Regions from separate parts of the Homo sapiens genome. Here all the other regions are linked to region 1. The links are contacts of gene promoters, found by promoter capture Hi-C in blood cells and fetal thymus (Javierre and others, 2016). All regions are on one chromosome and are shown on one strand. Each heading gives the region's core, a stretch centred on a gene start or on the middle of the fragment in contact. The rest is flanking DNA. Distances are from core to core; before and after follow the strand shown.

What was found. Contacts are between HindIII fragments. The CHiCAGO score rates a contact against its expected background, and 5 or more counts as called.
Region 2: a contact is called between the fragment with the promoter of WSB2 here and the fragment with the promoter of RAN in region 1, in 3 of 17 cell types (naive CD8 T cells, total CD4 T cells and activated CD4 T cells). The highest score is 5.6, in naive CD8 T cells.
Region 3: a fragment that was not itself captured here is called in contact with the fragment with the promoter of RAN in region 1 in 1 of 17 cell types (neutrophils); the score reaches 11.4 in neutrophils.
Region 4: a contact is called between the fragment with the promoter of FBXO21 here and the fragment with the promoter of RAN in region 1, in 5 of 17 cell types (naive CD8 T cells, total CD4 T cells, total CD8 T cells and 2 more). The highest score is 15.6, in naive CD8 T cells.

What each region holds. Positions count from the first base shown.
Region 1 is chr12:130,870,455-130,873,454 of GRCh38, reverse strand. It overlaps RAN (RAN, member RAS oncogene family), which reads right to left and starts at 1,389. Exons shown (of 7, transcript NM_006325.5): 1 at 1,329-1,389; 2 at 826-871; 3 at 535-619; 4 at 327-452. The coding sequence starts at 861. RefSeq lists silencers at 875-1,084, 1,135-1,274, 1,345-1,804 and enhancers at 826-1,587, 2,085-2,164, 1,588-2,349. The HindIII fragment of the contact is 6,850 bases long and covers 1-2,456 here.
Region 2 is chr12:118,059,467-118,062,814 of GRCh38, reverse strand. WSB2 (WD repeat and SOCS box containing 2) reads left to right here and starts at 1,636. Exons shown (of 9, transcript NM_018639.5): 1 at 1,636-1,779. The coding sequence starts at 1,767. LOC124903030 (a long non-coding RNA gene) reads right to left here and starts at 1,355. Exons shown (of 2, transcript XR_007063479.1): 1 at 1,135-1,355. RefSeq lists a silencer at 2,177-2,226. The HindIII fragment of the contact is 4,146 bases long and covers 1-2,832 here.
Region 3 is chr12:113,950,392-113,953,539 of GRCh38, reverse strand. It overlaps RBM19 (RNA binding motif protein 19), which reads left to right. Exons shown (of 24, transcript NM_016196.4): 8 at 950-1,028. Among named protein-coding and RNA genes, the nearest start is that of RBM19, 14 kb to the left of the region's middle. The HindIII fragment of the contact is 1,726 bases long and covers 620-2,345 here.
Region 4 is chr12:117,188,682-117,191,811 of GRCh38, reverse strand. It overlaps FBXO21 (F-box protein 21), which reads left to right and starts at 1,342. Exons shown (of 12, transcript NM_015002.3): 1 at 1,342-1,594; 2 at 2,450-2,585. The coding sequence starts at 1,356. RefSeq lists silencers at 1,126-1,185, 1,226-1,325, 1,606-1,655 and an enhancer at 2,126-2,215. The HindIII fragment of the contact is 6,345 bases long and covers 1-2,614 here.

The sequences.
Region 1 (3,000 bases), core at 140-2,639:
CACACCAAAATACATACATGAACCTAAGTTTCCAAATACTGAAACTGCTGTTAACAGCCTATTATTGTTTTAAATATGACTTATAAGTCCCAGTGTAAGTCATAGTTTTTTCTAAAGCATGCCTAGCATGACACAGCATGCAAATGACACAACTTTAATAAAATTTTCTCTGCCACCAAAATGGTGGTCAACTCCCCGAAGTCCACTTGTCTTTTTTTAACCCAAAAATGACACTATTTGTTGGAACAGACCTGATTTTCTATAACCTTGAAGACTGAAGTACACAAAACCTCTCAAAAACCGTTCAGCAAGTTACAAATGCCTACCTTGGATATAATAGCCATCTCTCAGTCCACCGAATTTCTCCTGGCCGGCTGTGTCCCATACATTGAACTTAATAGGTCCTCTGTTGGTGTGGAACACTAGGGGATGAACCTCAACACCCAAGGTGGCTGAAACGGAAACGATGCGATTGAGTGGATGAACTTACCCATTTCTCACATATTTCCACAAGCAAGGTTTTCCAGCACATACCTACATACTTCTTCTCAAATTCACCAGTCAAATGACGTTTCACGAAGGTCGTTTTTCCAGTACCACCATCACCAACCAATACAAGCTGTTGAAAAACACATTTTGGAAGTAAACCCTAAACACTTCACCTCTCAAGATCCCAGAGTCACGGAACTTTAACCACCACAGGCTCACTTAAAACAAAGAATGTGGATGCGGGGCCCCATTACAGCCATCGTGGCCCCAGGAGGAGGGACCCGCGAGTCGCACGCGGTCGGGCTCGGCCGCCTCCCGCCCCGCAGGGTTACCTACTTTGAACTGGACCTGGGGCTCTCCCTGCGCAGCCATCGCGGCGTTCCTGCGGAGGCAGAGGACGGAGGCGAGCGCTCGCGCGGCCCCGCAGCCCATGGCGGCCCCGCTCCCGCGCCCCCAGCGCCCCACGTGCCCGCCCCACAAAGGCCTCCCGCCCGCGGCGCCATGGCGGCCAGGCCTGGGAGCGGGAAGGCGGCGGGCGGGGCCGGCATCCGGGGCGGCGGGGCCCGGGGAACGGCGGCCGGAGGTGTAGGGATGGGAACGGGACTGGGACCGGGACGGGGATGAGAGCGGAGGATGAAACGGGGGTTCGCGGGGGCTAGCGCCGACCCCACGCCCGTCTCCTGCCCCGGCCCGGCCGGGCCCGCACCACCCACCTACTCAGCCGCCCGCTGCCCCTGGGTCCGCCACCCGCCCCGGCCCTGGCCCCGGCTCCGACCCCTATCCCGCCGCCGCCACCCCTGTCCCCGCCCGGCCGTGCCGGGCCCGCCGGGTCGCGATACCTTCCAGAAGCGTCTCCGCGCCCGTCCGACTGAGGCTGGAAAGATGGCGGAAGCGCAATTCAAACGCCGGAGACGCAGCCGACGCCGGCGCGAGAGCAGGGGCGGGGCCGGCGCGGGGCGGGGTTGCAAGGGGCGGGGCAACGGCGCGGCGCCCGCCCACGTGGCCCGCGCGTGCGCGCACGCACGCAACGCGGTTCGGTCGGCCGCTCGGGCGGTCGCTGCGCTTAGGGTGGGGCGGGAGGCGCGGTGGACCGCGTGGGAGGGCGAGCCGGGAGCGCGTACGCAAGCCGGCCGGTGGGGACCGCGTGCGCCGACGCCCCGGGCGGGCTCCCGGGCGCGCATGCGCTGAAAGCGAGGCGGCGCGCCCCTGAGCGGGAGACGTTGGGCGCGGCCCGACGGTCGCGGCTCTCCTGCCTCCCGGGTGGGAGGCGGTACTCGCTCGGGCAGACGTGGTCAGGCACGCGGCTTCCAGGCGCTGGCCAGCCTGTCCTTGTCTGTGCCCCGTGGGGTGGGGGTTCTTGAGGTCCTGGGGCTTAGGGTGGCTCGCGTGCGCGCAGGACGGGTGGGTGACAGAACGAATGAATGAATGAATGGGGTCTAGGCCCGTCCTCCAGAGGCAGCCCGCTGTTCTGTCTCTCCAGATCGTAGCCTTCACGCCCCCAGGACCAGGGCCAGTTGGAGAGCGAGGAACCAGAGAGGGATGCACCCACCCAGAAAAACGGCTACTTATTTTTTTTAAGAGACGGAGTCTCGCTACGTTGCCCAGGCTGGTCTCGAACTCTCAGGCTCGGGCGATCCTCCCGCCTCAGCCTCCCGAGTAGCTGGGACTACAGGCGCGCACCACATCAGGGGTAATTTTTTAAAAATTTTTTTGAGAGACAGAATCTAACTATGTCTCCCAGGCTGGCCTCAGGGGATCCACCCGCCTCGGCCTCCCAAAGCGTCCGGCTTCTCAAAGCGTTTCATAGGTTGGCAGCTTTGGCCGCTGCATGCTACAGACAAAATGATGAAATACTGTTTGCAGTCTGGACGCGTCTACCAGCCCTAGTTACCAACGGGGACGGAATGAGTAAGTGCTCAGCTTCCCAGCCCCCTGTTGGCCTGAAGCTGTAAGAGCCCAAACAAGCTTGAGCTAGAGGGACCCGACTTCCTGGGCGCCCCTGCCGACATGCAGACAGATAAAGGCCCAAATCAGCGCAGTCAAGCGCCTCAGAAGAGTCCACCATGGGGAGAGAGCCGCAGTGACCGAAGAGTCCTCCCTGCAGTCCTGAGCACACTTGCAGGCGAGTCCGCTAGGAACCCCAGTGACGCAAATTAGGCACAAAGCAGGCGACAACCGGCCTGCTGGGAACGCAAGTCCGAGCTCCCCCAGAACCCTCAGGGGAACCCCAAGCACCTCTCAGACGCTGCTGGCGGGAGAGCAGAATCTAACAGTAAAACGGGAATGCCCATTGCTTGTGACCCCGGATTTCCATTTCTAGGGAGAGGCCCCAGAGTTAAACTCATGCCTCACGCATGTGCACAACATTTAATACTGTATAACATTTAAAAGGAATGACGGTCATCTGTTTCAACAGGGTTAGATAGATGTCAAAAGGATAGTGTTGAGAAAAGAAGAAAGAGGTGATAACAGCTTTATAAAGTCTAGGCCACCTGTAATCCCAGCACTTTG
Region 2 (3,348 bases), core at 387-2,886, about 13 Mb after region 1:
GGCGAGAAAGGGACAGGTAGCCAGCGGAAAAGGGGGAGACTGAGAAACCGGCAGGTTCAAAGAAAAGAAAAAAAAAAACCGGCCAAGCGGGGTGAACAGGAGTGTAACCCAGGAGGCCAAACGGGACACAGGAAGGACGTACCCAGGGCTCATAAAACAGGGGCCTGGGTAAAAAAACCCGAAACATTAAAACGGAGAGACCATGGTGAAAAAGAACACGGGAACCTCAGTTACCGTAGAAAACATAGGTTGCGTTAGGAAGCAAAGAAATTTAAAATGGAACCACTGCGATCCGGAGCTCTGGGACCAGTGACCGGCAAATGGAGAGGGCACTTGGAGGGAAGCGAAGAAAGGCGGGGAGAAAGGAATGAGAGGCGGGAGAGTGACTTGAATGAAGCTGACACCAAGAACCGCGGGAAGAGCTTGGGCCCAAAGCAGGAAAGGGAAGCGCTCGAGTTGGGGGTAAGGGGAGGCATTTTGGGGACAATGAGCTGAGCTCAGTAAGAAATCCCCAAGCCACTGATACTACTGGGGACCGGACAACTAAGAAATGGGGTCTTTCAGGCATGAAAAGCCTCCATGATGACTCCTGCCCTGGCCCTGGAATGTTAAAAAGGGGGCGTCTGACCCAAGCGAGCCATTTCTTGAGGCTATGCGGGTAGACAGGGAGAGCAGGTTTCTCAGGGGGACGGGGACAGGCGAGGCTGTCGCCGTAGGTAGGTAAGGGGACAGTCTTCTTCCGAATCGCTCCTGCCCCGTTTTTTATCTCGTTCCCACCCCCACTCCGGTTTTCACCCTGCCCTCCTCTCCCCACCGCCCCGTGTTCTCCTCACTTCCCTCTCCCATTACCGGAGCCATTGAGTAGCCCCCCTTGTTTTACCCTAGCCTTGACCCTCGCCGCACCCCCCAATTCTTACGTCCTCCCCAGCACCCGGTTATTACACCTTCCTTCCACCCCCTCCCCATTTTCCCCTAAGCCCAGCTCTCCCCAGGTTTCTTCTCGGCCAGTATTCCCTCCAACCTATTTCTCCCGCCCCCATTTTTACCCGTTTCCCCCCTCATCGGCCTTCGCATGGCTCCATTTTCACCTGCCCCTCCCCTCGATTTCGCTTCAGCCCCTTTGGTTCCCCTTACCCCCACAGCCCTCGGTCTCCCTCTCTCCGTTCTCCCCGGATCGCCGCTTCCCCTGCTTGGTTTTTCTCTCAGCCCGGCTCTACCACTCTCCAACACCCCCTTTTCCCCTGAGCCCGGCTTCCCCTACTCCGGTTTCTATCGCTCCCCTTTTCCCGGTTTCCCTCAGCTCTGTTCACCTCCCTCCCTTCCCCGTTTTTATCCGGCGCTGGTTCCCCTCAGGACCCCGCACAACCCCTGGGTTTTATCCCGTTCGCGCCCCACCCCGTTTCCGCTCAGCTCCCCCCACCCCTGCCCCATTTTTATCTGGTTCGCGCGTCTTCCCCGCCCCCGTTTCCCCTGAGCAACCCCTCAGCTTTTATCCCGTCAGCGTACCGCCTCCCCGATTTTCCATCTTTTCCCTCAGCTGCCCCCCACCGTTTTTATCCCGTCCGCACCCCCCCTCCGTTTCCCCTGCGCCCCGCCCCCGCGCGTCTCCGCCCGCGCCCACCGCCATGTGACGGGAAGCAGCTGATGGCCTCTCCGGGCGGCGGCGGCGGCCTGGCCGGGGCGGGCGGCGCGGGGGCGGCATGAGGGCCCGCGGCCCGGGGGGCTGAGGCGCCCGCCGCCTGCCGCGGGGGCCGCTCGCGTCCTCCATGGAGGCCGGAGGTGAGTGGGGCCGGGCGCGCCCGTTCCCGCCCGGCGGGGCCCTGGCCCGTTCTCCCCGGGGAGGGGGGAGGCGACCCCGGGGCGGGCTGGGCGGGGTGGGGCGGGGGCTGGACGCGGCGGGGGCGTCCGGCCTGGGAGGTCCGCGCGGGGCCGGCGGGGGTGCGCGCCCGGCGACCAGCTTTGTTTCACTTTCGTTGTCAGTGGCCGCCACCCTGACTCCCGCCGGCGACAGGATCGGGAAGATCGGGCTTCTGCGGGAGGAGATCCCCCGACCGGGACAGAGGGGGCTCCCGGGTGGGACTCGGGGCGGGGGGCACCAAGCCCTAAAACGGAGATCCCCAAGGGGGTGGGTGCCCCTGGGTACCCAGGTGCCAGGGGACGCACTTGCATGTCTGGATGGGAGTCACCTCTGTCCCTCACAAGCTGTGTGATCGTGACAGTGGACAAGCCACTGAACCACCGCCACCCACGTCTCAGTTTTGATCTGCAAAATGGGATAATCCTAGTACCTTCCTCGGAGGGTGGCTGGGACCCGGTAAAAATGGGGTCTGGGGTCTGGGTTCCCTATTGAAACAATCTATTCCCAGCCTCTCCCACTGGAGATTAAGTCAGTGGAGGTGGGGCGGGACTGGAGACGCTGATCCCTGGTGACATGTATGATCAGGCAAATTTAGGATACACTGATGGGTGGGGACCTTGCCTCTATTCTTGTTAACTGCCATCCCCATCAGAAGACAGCGTGGAAGTCAGAGGATATTGGATATACCTCAAGCCAGCCCAGATGAACATAAAATCTCAGTGGGAAAGGTGTGTCTCTTATGCAAGGGGAAAAAAACCCCAAGACGCATGCACGCCTTGGCCCTCTCCCCTCCAACGACCTTCCCTCGGAACCCCACTTGGGATAGATTTAGAATTGATTCCGGGAGTCCCAGGTCTTGAAGGACCCGAGTTTAAATGTAATTTCCTTAGGAGAAATTTTCAGAGCAGGTTCAAGGCCTAGGGCTCAGAATTTGTTCCAGAACTTCATGGTAATCTTGCAGCCAAGTTCAAGCTTCATCCTGGTCTGGAGGGTTCTGATTGCTGATGGCTTGTTACTGTGGGTGGGAAGGTTGAAATCTGGGTATTCCCTGGGGTGGTGTTACTTTTTAATTTAGGAAATGACATTTCTTTGTTTGCTGAAGTCAGGCATTGAGTTAAAGGCAGCTCTCTCTCCTTCCCATCTAGATAAGGGCTTTCTTTTCAGTGAGTGTTACCCGTAGAATTCTTTTTAAAAGGGCCCCTACTGTTTGTGTAGATCCTATGTGAATCTTTTTATAGCTTCCGTTTGATTTCCATTGCCTCCTTACAGTTCAATCTGAAAGCAATCTGTAGCTAGCCTGCCTTTTTAACAGAAATCTGTTTCCAGTTCTGGGGTTTTCCTAAAGATTGACAACTTCGTTTTGAGGGTGTGGGCAGGGTTGTTGAGAGCTGCCAAGTTACTGTACAAAAAAGGCCAGAGTTTTAACTTATTTTCAAATGGAATAAAGCCCATTGTAAAGGAAATACAATGGGCAACAGTTGAAATCTTCA
Region 3 (3,148 bases), core at 233-2,732, about 17 Mb after region 1:
ATACTCTCTCACATTTGTAGATCGTGTATATCTTGTTGTCATTGTTGTTTTGAGACAGAGTTTCGCTCTTATCTCCCAGGCTGGAGTACAATGGTGCAATCTCAGCTCACTGCAACCTCCGCCTCCCGGGTTCAAGTGATTCTCCTGCCTCAGCCTCTCGGGTAGCTGGGATTACAGGCACCTGTCACCATGTCCAGCTAATTTTTGTATTTTTAGTAGAGACAGCGTTTCACCATGTTGGCCAGGCTGGTCTCGAACTCCTGACCTCGGGTGATCACCCGCCTTGGACTCCCAAAGTGCTGGGATTACAGGCGTGAGCCACCGCACCTGGCCAATATATCTTCTCTTTTGGAAAGTGCCCGATCATGTCTTTTGCCCTTTTTTCTCTTGAAGTCTTTATCTGTTCTGGTACTCTATGTTTATAAATATCTGAATTACAACTTATCAAACTTCAGAGTAGCAAGCATGTAGGTTTTATTAAACTCACTGAGTTGCTTGTAATTTTGTCAGAATTCTTTCAGTATCAACCATTCAGAAAATCACATGCTTTAATTAACAAAACCAAAACCACTAGGTGGCTACTTGCAAAACTAATACACAAAAACCAAATACTCAAGCTTAATGAGAAGTGAAAAAAGCCAGGTTTAATCCCAAGTATATACAATTATCTAGGGGGGAAACAGTGCCTTGAAATGCGGATCGTGACATCGCTATTTTAACGCTGATAGTGACACTGCTATTTTATATTTATATTACTCATTTCTCCTCCAATTTTCTTTTTCACATTTTCTCCAAGGTAATTGGAGAAGCGATACGTATAAGGAAAGAGAAAAACTAAAGAATGAAACACTTTGTAATCCTTTCTGATTTAGAAATTTGCCCCATGTCTTTTCGTTGGGTTGTACTTTTATTATGTGGTTGGTAAGGGGAAAAAAACTTCTTCTCACAGAAAAATGTTATGGAATTCCTGGCACCCCTGAAACCAGTGGCCATTCGAATTGTGAGAAACGCTCATGGGAATAAAACAGGTAAGATCCAGGATGTTTCCAGGTGGGAAGGCGGGTAGACAGTGAAGATTGAAGGTTGGGGTACTTGAATAAGGAAGAAGTTTTAAGGGCACCCGTTTTTCTTCCTGTTTGTGGTCCTCAGTTGTGTGGATGTGGTCAGCCTGGGCAGGTTAAGGCTGCATCTCTTGCCCCAGCCTTTGGTGGCCTAGTGTATAGGGATGGAGTTCTCACCTGTGCTTTTCATCCTTCCCTTCCTCATCTTAGCCTTTGCCTATCTCAGTGGGCTCACCTATTACGCTGAAACAAATGCCAACAGGTCCTGGGGTTTGCTAGGCCAAGTCCACAGGCAGCTCTGCTGGTGGGCAGGGCTCTGAGTTGCTGAGCATGTGTGGTGTTGCCCCGTGCCACCCTCCCTGCAGGTTTATACTCTGGGCAACCAACCAGGCACCTCCCTTGGCTTCAGAGCCCTGGGTTCTGGTCATCCTGAGATGAGCAGTGTGGCTGGAAGGCAGAGTGTCTGAGCTCGGGGAGGTGGGCACCTGTCCGTGCCTACTTCTTGCTGGCCAGGACACTGGGAGATTCAGCAGCTGACTTGCTACTTCTCAAGAGAACCACACTGAGGCCCTGTAGCTGCGGGGAGGCTGGAGGCTGGAAGCCGCTGGATGTGTACTCTGTCTTTGGCAAGAAGACACTGGCCTGGGTAGAGCAGTTGAGATCTACCTAGGCTGACATCTGGGGAAGAAAGTGTGCTTGAGGGATGGTCTCCTCACTGTCATGTTTCTGCATTTCTTCCCCAACTCTCCTCTTATCACGGAAGTCCCACTTACCCAGCTGATCCATTCAGCCACCCATCCTTCTCCTTGCAGACTGATTACAGGGCAGGATGAGGTCAGGGTAAAGGGCTCTGCCTAAGTGCAGATCTCAGGTAGGAGCCCTATGACCTTGGACAAGGGACTTAGCCTCAGTTTGTTTGTGTGTGTGAGTGTGTGTGTGTTTGTGTGTGTGTGTGCAGTCAGGTAAACCTGTCTCACCAAGTTGCATGAATGGCTCTGTGTACAGCATTTAGAGCAGTGCTGAGCCCCTGTTGCACACTCCATGAAAGCTGCTGTTAATATTCATGATGGTGGTGGTGATGGTGCTGGTACCCTTGGTTTTATGGCACTTCACAGACCAGGGAGGGAGCAGGAAGAAACATATCTGAGTTGTCAGACCCAAGAGAAAACCATATTGGAGGCCCCAGAGTTGGAGAGAGCCGGCATCCAAGCATGAAATGTTGAAAAGCAGCTGAATGTCCCCTGCAGGAGAGCTGGGGAGGAGGCAGGCTGGGCCCCTTAAGCTTTAGGGGCCTCATTAAAGATTGTGTGTCTCAGCTACTCAGGAGGCTGAAGTAGGAGGATTACTTGAGCCTAGGAGTTCAAATCCAGCCTGGACAACATAGCAAGACCCAATCTCAAAAAGAAAAAGATTGTGGGCTTCAGTCTGGATGCAGGGGCCCCTGGGAGCTTAGAGCAGGGGAGGGCAGTGATCACATTTAGGATGGTCCCTGGCAGGTGAAGAATGGGTCCTGGAGCCAGGCGTTTGCCATCGTCTAAGGGAGGATCAGTGGTGATGGGGCCTAGGGTGTGGCCATGGAGAGGGGGAGGGAAAAGGACGGAAGATGTTTATGGGGATGGATGAGGTGCCTGGATATAGGAAAGGAGGGCATGGAGGAGTCACAGAAAGAATCTAAACAGCCTTGTGATTAAAGGCAGAAAACCCAAGGGCTTTGGACCAAGTATTAGACATTGCCAGCTATTAGCCGAGTGCCCCTCGGAGTATTTCTTTAATGCTCCAGAAAAGCAGGGGAATGGTCCTCACCCCTCACCTTGTTGCCTCACAGGTTTGAGGCCCAAAGAGGTCAGGAAGCAGAGCCTCTCATGCTAGAGGAAAGACTCCCCCATTTGCTTGTTTTTTTGTGCAAGTCAAGGCCTCAGGTGCCCAGGAGCAGAGTGGGTGTGGAGAAGGTGCTTCCAGCGCCTAGGTGGGTCCTCATGCTGTAGCCACAGGCCCTTCTCCAGAGAATGGCTTAGAGCAGGTGCCAGTCGGGGGATGGGGGTGAGGCTTGGAGGGAGACAGAAAGGCCTCCTGGGCTTCCAACTCCT
Region 4 (3,130 bases), core at 93-2,592, about 14 Mb after region 1:
AAAGACTCCATTTTTCTCACCCCTGTATCCCCAGGGCACACAACACAGGGCTTTGGCACTGAACTAAACTGATTTTTTTTTTTTAATGTGCAGATCCTGAGACTACCCTCCCAATCCTGAGTGATAACTCCCGCTTTGAAGACTCAAATCCAGGCTTTAGCACTTTTGTCTCTGTAACTTTGAACCAGTGACTGCCACCTGGAAGAACTTTGCCTTTTCTGTAGAATAGGTATAACTGTGGTACCTATTGTGGGAGGTCAGACTATGCTCCCCAAATATGAAGGATTGTTGAGCTGGAAACAATTAAGAAACCAGTACAGGAGAGCTCTCTGCCTGCCCTCTATTAGCCTAAAATCAGGGCACACATTTGAGGATTATTATTACTCCCCTACACCATCATAGAGGGCTTCCCATAGCACCCACTCAAGAATATTGTTATTATTACATCATATGGTTAAGATTACTGACAAGCAAAAGTCAAGTGGATCTGAAATAGAATCCAAGACAAGGGGCTGGGCGCGGTGGCTCACGCCTGTAATCCCAGCACTTTGGGAGGCCGAGGTGGGTGGATCATTTGAGGTCAGGAGTTCGAGACCAGCCTGACCAACATGGTGAAACCCTGTCTCTACTAAAAATACAAAAATTAGCTGGCTGTGGTGGCGGGCGCCTGTAATCCCAGCTACTCGGGAGGCTGACGCAGGATAATTGCTTGAACCAGGGAGGTGGAAGTTGCAGTGAGCCGAGATCACGGCCACTGCACTCCAACCTGGGTGGTGGCGCGCGCCTGTAATCCCATCCGCACGGGAGGCTGAGGCAGGAGAATCGCTTGAACCCAGGAGGCAGAGGTTGCAGTGAGCCGAGATAGCGCCACTGCCCTCCAGCCTGGGTGAGAGCAAGACTCCTTCCCAAAGGGGGAAAAAAAATCCAAGACAAGGGATCCTGAGCAAGCCCTCTCACTCTCCGAACCTGTTTCCCCATCTGTAATATGGGGAGAAAGTTCGCAGGGTAATTCGGAAAGGTCCAATGCGCACAGAAAGCGCTCAGCACGCGTGAGAATAGATACCATTTTTATTTGTTAATTTTAAACATTAATTACGTTTAAAAGAATCAGTGCTACTATTGTTGTCCCGGACTAGAGGCGGCTTGCGCTGCCGGCTCCAAGCACAGAGCCCAATTATGTCCTCCCTTTTGCGGCGCTGCCACCCGCGCAGCCCCCAGCCGATGCAGGGGAGGTGTGGCCCGCGGATGGGCGGAGCGATCTCAGGACTCGCCCCCAAGACCAGTAGGCGGGGCCAGGCGGGGCGCCCGGGCACTCTCGCACGCGCGCGCGCGGCGGCCCCAGGTACGCGGACAAGATGGCGGCGGCAGCAGTCGACAGCGCGATGGAGGTGGTGCCGGCGCTGGCGGAGGAGGCCGCGCCGGAGGTAGCGGGCCTCAGCTGCCTCGTCAACCTGCCGGGTGAGGTGCTGGAGTACATCCTGTGCTGCGGCTCGCTGACGGCCGCCGACATCGGCCGTGTCTCCAGCACCTGCCGGCGGCTGCGCGAGCTGTGCCAGAGCAGCGGGAAGGTGTGGAAGGAGCAGTTCCGGGTGAGGTGAGCCAGCGGCCCCGCGCCCCGGCTGCGCGCCCACCGCCCCGCGCCCCCCGGGGCCGGGCAGCCGCCCCGCTAGCTCCCCGCGGCCGCCCCGCGCGCGGACCCCACCCCGGACCCCTTCCCGCGGACAGACAGACAAAGGCCTCCAGGCCCCGGACCCTGCGGGGCCACGCCAGGCGGACCCCCGGGTCCCCAAATGGCGCATCTAGGAGCGCCTCGCAGCCGGGTCCTCCGTCAAGGGTGACGCTGGCGGCGGCGCGGCTCGTCCCTTTTGCGCGCTTCTTTTGTGCCCGACTTCGGGCTGAAATGTTTACATGGACCCAGTGATGCATCGATCGGGCGGGCGCAGCATCCCCGGGCTGGTTGTGGACGGCACAGATTTCAGCGTGGCCCCAGGATGAAATCTGGCCCTGCACACTCCCTCTGTGACCTTGGGGGGAGCGACTTCCCTTTTTTTGAGCCTCGTTCATAGACTTTGAGTGGTGGTGATCATTAGACCTACCTTTCACCGTGTTTATTAAATTAGATGATGTCCGGGAGGCACGCACGCAGGGCCCCGGCTCCTAGGAGGCGCTCAATCAGTGCTCACTGTCATTGTCATTATTATTATTGTTGTTGTTGTTACAACTGTCCCCATTTTAGAGATGGGGAATGGAGACATCATTCATGCCGCTACGCCAAGGTCACACCGGGAGTGAGTGAGTGAATGCTGGTGGGGTTTTGAACTAGGTCTCTCGCCGGGGTCCCTCTTACCACTGGACGCCACTGCTGTCCCTGTTTCCAAGGCTGCCTTGGATTCGTGGCCGCCTGCCTTTGAGTTTCTGTTAAGCTGAGGGGGTGTTTCTCTCCTCGTAGGTGGCCTTCCCTTATGAAACACTACAGCCCCACCGACTACGTCAATTGGTTGGAAGAGTATAAAGTTCGGCAAAAAGCTGGGTTAGAAGCGCGGAAGATTGTAGCCTCGTTCTCAAAGAGGTTCTTTTCAGAGCACGTAAGGATCTGTTGATGTGGCTCTAAGCTTTGGCTTGCTGGTGTATGTGTCTGGGTCTGCAGGCATGAGCTCATCCAGCTCTTTTCGTATCTCCCTTTTCAATGCTCTCACAATCCCTTACTCACTTAGATGGCTGCAAGAGTCATTGTGTCCTTTTCCTCCTATCCAACAACACGAAGCCATTTGTCTGTGCCAGCTTTACTTTTCTAAAGCCAGAGAGAGAGTGGGGGTGGAGGGAGCAGGGAGGGACCCACGCAGCACAATGTAGACGGAGTCCAGATCAGCATTATTTCTCAAATGGGTTCAACGGATTTTTTTTGCAACCCCTCCGTTATTTGGGGAATCATCAATGATTGAACACTGTAAATTTCTCCCGGTTGTTTTCCCAGAAGGGTTGACGAAATTAATGTGGTTCTTCTCTCTGGCTTTGCAGGTTCTACCCAGTAGTGAACTGCATTATTTGTTAAGGTAACAGAGGATTAAAAGCTACCTATAAATCAGAGTTATTACTCCCTGAAATGAATTGTCTTGCATTCATTATCCCT